2 separate regions of the Homo sapiens genome follow, and region 1 is linked to region 2. Evidence: promoter capture Hi-C in human tissues and cell types (Jung and others, 2019). All regions are on one chromosome and are shown on one strand. The core of a region is centred on a gene start or on the middle of the fragment in contact, and the rest is flanking DNA. Distances in the headings are between cores, read along the strand shown. Region 1 has its middle 25 kb from the start of ASH2L. Region 2 holds the start of BRF2 (BRF2 general transcription factor IIIB subunit).

Region 1 (2,914 bases), core at 303-2,802, 230 kb before region 2:
TTTCACATTCCTTGAGGCTCAGCGAGTTCCTGCTTCACCTCCCTAGCGCAGCTGCAAAGTTACAAGGTTGATAAGCGTATGTTACAGAAACAGAGTTTCCCAAGGATGTAGAACATGTAGTATACATAAATGTAAAAGACTGATCAACTGCCTTTGTTCTCACTTCTGTAAGTACGCTTCCTGCACCAGGTAGCTCTCAGCCACTGACTGCTTAAAAGGTGGCTGCTTTCTTTGCCGAGGCTCAGACTTTCCTGGATGCTAGTCCTACTGAGCCAGGTGATCACCTTAATAAAGGCTTTCCTGAACTCTGTTCGTCTTTCCCGTCTCTGATTGTCCCGCAACAGCAGAAAGGAAGACATTTATTTGCAGTGCACCAAGCAGGAAGGACCAGGTAGCTCGCTCTCAAATCCTGACTTCCCCAGTAGCTTGCAGGTAAGGGTTCTTAAAGGCAGGGGTAAAATTCGGGAAAGCAGAAGTTACAGGCAAAGTCATAAGTCAGTACATGAAGCTTACACATTGGTTTTGGCTTAAAAGAGTCGGGTATCTTGAAGGCGAGGAGGGTTCGGGGGAATGTAGGGGTGTTACAAGCAACAGGTAAATTCAAAGATTTTCTGATTTGCAATTGTTTAAGGGAGAAAAATTTGGGGTCAGAAGAAAAGAATGTTAGCTCAATGTTGTGACTGTGACTTGCTCTAGGCCCCTCAGGAAGAACTTTAGAATAAAGGACAGCTGTCAGAGTTCAGTCCTCAGTTTCTCCTTATCTGAGGTCTGTGTGCCAGCAGATCCATTGGGTGGGGGTCCAGTCTCTGAAAAACAGTTCAGGGACACGCGCTAAGATGTTATCTTCAGTTTACATAGGGAACCAAACATTTCCTGGCTCTAGCTTCCTTTGCTGTTGTTTTAGGCTACTATTACATTCTTGCTTATCACGTTGCTCGTTTATTTATCAAGGCTAGCTAGGTGCTTGGAATTTTCTTTGAGGGAACTCAAGATTTTCCTTTATTTCCACGCTTGGGAGGGACTTGGCAGGCCTCTAACAAGTAGGTGGGGGAGTGGAGAGGGAGGGTGCGGTCCCTGCTTTGTCTCTCAGCACTTTGGGAGGCCAAGTTAGGAGGATCACTTGGGCCCATGGGTTGGAGACCAGCCTGGGCAACATAGTGAGACCCCGACTCTACAAAAAATTTAAAAAATTAGCTGGACTGGGCGTGATGGTTCACGCCTGTAATCCCAGCACTTTGGGAGGCCAAGGCAGGTGGATCACTTGAGGTCAGGAGTTCAAGACCAGCCTAGACAACATGGTGAAACCCCGTCTCTGCTAAAAATACAAAAATTAGCCGGTCATGGTGGCGGGCGCCTGTAATCCCAGCTACTCAGGAGGCTGAGGCAGGGGAATTGCTTGAACCCGGGAGGTGGAGGTTGCAGTGAGCTGAGATCACACCACTGCACTCCAGCCTTGGTGACAGAGTGAGACTCTGTCTCAAAAAAAAAAGAAAAAAAATTAGCCGAGTGTGATGGTGCATGCCTGTAGCCTTAGTTATTCAGGAGGCCAAGGCAGGAGGATTGTTTGAGCCCAGGAGGTCAAGGTTGCAGTGAGATGTGTTCACGCCACTCAGCCTCCTAAGTAGCTGGGACTACAGGTGTGTGCCATCGCACTTGGCTAATTTTAAAATTTTTGTAGAGACAGGATTTACTATGTTGCCCAGGTTGGTCTTGAACTCATGGACTCAAGCGATCCTCCTGCCTTGGCCTGCCGAAGTGCTTGGATTACAGTCGTGAGCCACTGCTCCCAGCCTGTACTGACCACAGGGCCTTCAATACCCAAGGGAGAGAACTTGTATGAAAACAAGTTATGTCCCATCCCCGTACCAGGTAAGAAAATAAGTTTTATCTGATGCATGGGAGTCCTTTTAAATTATCAGGCCCAAAGAGGCATTAAAATGAAATAGCAATCACGTCCTACTTTCCCCCACCCCATTTTGAGCTATGTGTTCATCTCTTGAAATTGCTTGCTATTGCTAAAAGTAGCCATAAATTAACCTAACAGTGCTGCAACAGCCACTATAACCCACACCCTATAGCTTAACAATGTATATAGCCAATCAGCAGCTTATGTTATTTTGATGGAAATTCTTGGTAAACAACTCAGGAACTGCCTCTTCTTTCCCTTTAAAAATCCACTTGTGGACCAGCACGGTGGCTCACACCTGTAATCCCAGCACTTTGGGAGGCTGAGGTGGGTGGATCACCTGAGGTCAGGAGTTCAAGACCAGCCTGGCCAACATGGTGAAACCCCATCTTTACCAAAAATTCAAAAATTAGCCAGGTGTTGTGGTGGGCACCTGTAATCTCAGCTACTCGGGAGGTTGAGGCAGGAGAATCGCTTGAACCCAGGAGAAAGAGGTTGCAGTGAGCCGAGATTGAGCCATTGCACTCTAGCCTGGGCGACAAGAGCAAAACTCTGTTTCAAAAAACAAAAAAAAGTCCACTTGTGGCTGGGCATGGTGGCTCACGCTTGTAATCCTAGCACTTTGGGAGGCTGAGACAGGCAGATCACCTGAGGTTGGGAGTTCGAGACCAGCCTGACCAACATGGAGAAATCCTGTCTCTACTAAAAATACAAAATTAGCCAGGCATGGTGGTGCGTGTCTGTAGTCCCAGCTACTCAGGAGGCTGAGGCAGGAGAATTGCTTGAACCTGGGAGGTGGAGGTTGTGGTGAACTGAGATCACGCCATTGCACTCCAGCCTGGGTAACAAGAGCGAAACTCCCTCTCAAAAAATAAATAAATAAATAAATAAATAAATCCACTTGTAACTGCTGCTAATTGGAATGTATATTCAGGAAACTTAAATCTGTGCTCCCATGTTACAATCCTCAAGCTTGGTGCAAATAAACTCTCTACTTATATTAATTTA
Region 2 (2,728 bases), core at 223-2,722:
GAGTCTGATGCTCTGCTGTGTGATCATGCAAGGAACTGTTCCCAGTGCAAGTTATGTCGCTTTCAGGGACACTTTCTTCATCCAAATAAGAATGTCAACCACACTAAAACTAATGGATGTCTCTGAGTGGTGTGTGTGTGCGGGTGCGCATGTGCAAATGTATCTTAATATTTAACTGTCAGACAGCCAGAAATAAGCTCTCATCCTGTATCTCACGCTAGTGGGGAGGTCTAGAAAAGGCGGGGGGGCTTGGACTGCCGGATCCCACCCACGATTAATGTGCTGAAGCCCCCTTCTGTTATGATACTAAAGTAATTCAAATTGAAGAGAAAGGACCGTTGGGTATTATTGTGTCTCTTGGCCCTCCAATGTGAGCGATCCCCATGGGAATGGACGGGATGTCTCTGAAAAGGAGTAGTGATTCTCACACTCTGAGAAAGCAGTCTCTTAGGGAAGGGATGGTGTCTTTAGGTTTGGATATCACGTGTAAAAACTGGGTGTGGAAAAGAAGGGAGTGACACTTCTTAAAGGTATGTTTTATTTTGTTTGAGATGGAGTCTCGCTCTGCCACCCAGGCTGGAGTGCAGTGGCGCGATCTTGGCTCACTGCGCCTCCTGCGCCTCCTGGGTTCAAGCGATTCTCCTGCCTCAGCCTCCTGAGTAGCTGGGATTAGAGACGTGCACCACCACGCCCAGCTAATTTTTGTGTATTTTTAGTAGAGACGGGATTTCACCATGTTGCCCAGGCTGGTCTCAAACTCCCGAGCTCAGGTGATCCACCTGCCTCGGCCTTCCAAAGTGCTGGGATTACAGGCGTGAGCCACCACGCCCAGATAGCTCAAGGTTTTTTAAAAAACATCTGAATCTGCGTGCTTGCGCCGCTCCAGGTCTCCATCACTCCATATTCTTTCACTCCAAACTCCTTTAGACATTCCTGCCTGGCCTCCAAAAGCGTTTGGGTTTGCATCTCTGGATTTTTTTTTCAACTTCCTCATTTTACAGTTGAGAAAAACAGGAGGTAAAGAGAGGAAGGAATCTGCTTTAGGAAGCAGCTCTGGAAAGCAGAACACAGTTTCCTGCTCCCGCTCTCTCTCCACTACTCTCCCTTTAAAAAATATACTTTCTTCTATGGCCAATTAAACATTCATTACCAACCTGCGATTCCCTTAGGACTTTAAAAGGAGGGTTGTTCAGGGGTGACAACAATCTTCTGTCTGTTATACGTGTCCATGTAGGCAAAAACTTTCCCAAATTCAACCCCAGTCTAGGTCCCAAAAACTAACTACAGAGTGCAGGGAAACCAGACAGCTACAGTTCAGCCCAGGAACCTCCTCTCCTAGCTCACGTTTCTACCCGAGCCCGCGGAGGCACAGACCGGAAGTGGCGCGCAGCCTCCCAGCGGAGGGAACCGCCTATGCCTCCGTCGCGCTGGCCGGAAGACGGGGGTGCAACCCTTTGAAGTGTCCCCTCCTACTTCTTGCTGCCTCACGGTTGCTGTTGCAGACCCAGGAGTCTCTGAAGGCTTCCGCGGCTTTGGGGCCGGTTGTGAGATGCCAGGCAGAGGCCGCTGCCCGGACTGCGGCTCCACGGAGCTGGTGGAAGACTCGCACTATTCGCAGAGCCAGCTGGTGTGCTCCGACTGCGGCTGCGTGGTCACCGAGGGGGTCCTTACCACTACCTTCAGCGACGAGGGCAATCTCCGAGGTACTTGTGGCCCTGGGGACAGCCTGGGGCGGTGGAGGGATTAACATCAGATTCCTTTTGCCTCCCCGCTCCCCCCATACTCCTAACTGTAACGCACACACTTAATTTGAGAGAAAATGACCTAAAGTGAGCGAGGGAGCTGAAGGAGATGGGGGCTGCCATTCATCTGTGTTTTCCCAGCACTTAGTATCGGGCATAGATGGTGCGTGTAATAAATATTGAATAAGTGAGACAGAAACAAAAGTTCCACTCATCTTGCCATGTCTGGTCATTGTGGAAGGATTGCCGATACGATTATAGCAGGTATTATTACCCTGAAATAGTTTTAAGCACAAACTGGCAAAACATCACTTTTCTTTGCTTTCCAAGTTTCTGACCAGTGCAGCCCTCAAAATCTGCAGCCATTGTCTGGGTGGGGTGGCTTACGCCTGTAATCCCAGTGCTTTGGGAGGCAGAGCCGAGAGGATTGCTTGAGCCCAGGATCTCGAGACCAGCCTTGGTAACGTAACGAGACAAGTGCCTAAAAAAATTTTTTTTTAATTAGCCAGGTATGGTGGCATACACCTGTAATCCCAGCTACCCAGGAATCTGAGGTAGGAGGATTGCTTGAGCCTGGAAGTTGAAGGCTGCCGTGAGCTGTGATCGCACCACTGTGCTCCAGCCTGGACTATAGAGGGAAACTCCTTAAACAAACAACAACAAAATCTGCTGCTAGGAAAATTGCCTGTATGGAATGTACTGGAAGGATGACTGGAAATTTGGAACACTTGGAGCTGCTTTAATGCAGTCCTAACCTTTCCCAGTCTCTGTGTATTCGGAACCTCTTGTAGACATAGAAAACCAGATGGGGCCTTTAACTGTGCAGCAGCAGATGCTCAATGATTTGAATTTTGCGTCCTGGTTTTGTGTGGTGGGAGGGCAGGGGTCTGATGAATAAAGGCTAAGCACACTATTTGTTGTTTATTATCTTACAGAGGTAACATATTCCCGAAGCACAGGGGAAAACGAACAAGTTAGTCGCAGCC

What was found. The method cuts DNA at HindIII sites, captures the fragments that hold promoters and counts their contacts. A contact is called where the count stands out against the background at its distance.
Region 1: a contact is called between a fragment that was not itself captured here and the fragment with the promoter of BRF2 in region 2, in 1 of the 25 tissues and cell types used here (spleen).

What each region holds. Positions count from the first base shown.
Region 1 is chr8:38,079,247-38,082,160 of GRCh38, reverse strand. No RefSeq gene overlaps it. Among named protein-coding and RNA genes, the nearest start is that of ASH2L, 25 kb to the left of the region's middle. The HindIII fragment of the contact is 3,188 bases long and covers 1-2,914 here.
Region 2 is chr8:37,848,605-37,851,332 of GRCh38, reverse strand. BRF2 (BRF2 general transcription factor IIIB subunit) reads left to right here and starts at 1,472. Exons shown (of 4, transcript NM_018310.4): 1 at 1,472-1,703; 2 at 2,678-2,728. The coding sequence starts at 1,550. RefSeq lists enhancers at 1,267-1,616, 1,657-1,796. The HindIII fragment of the contact is 10,485 bases long and covers 1-2,728 here.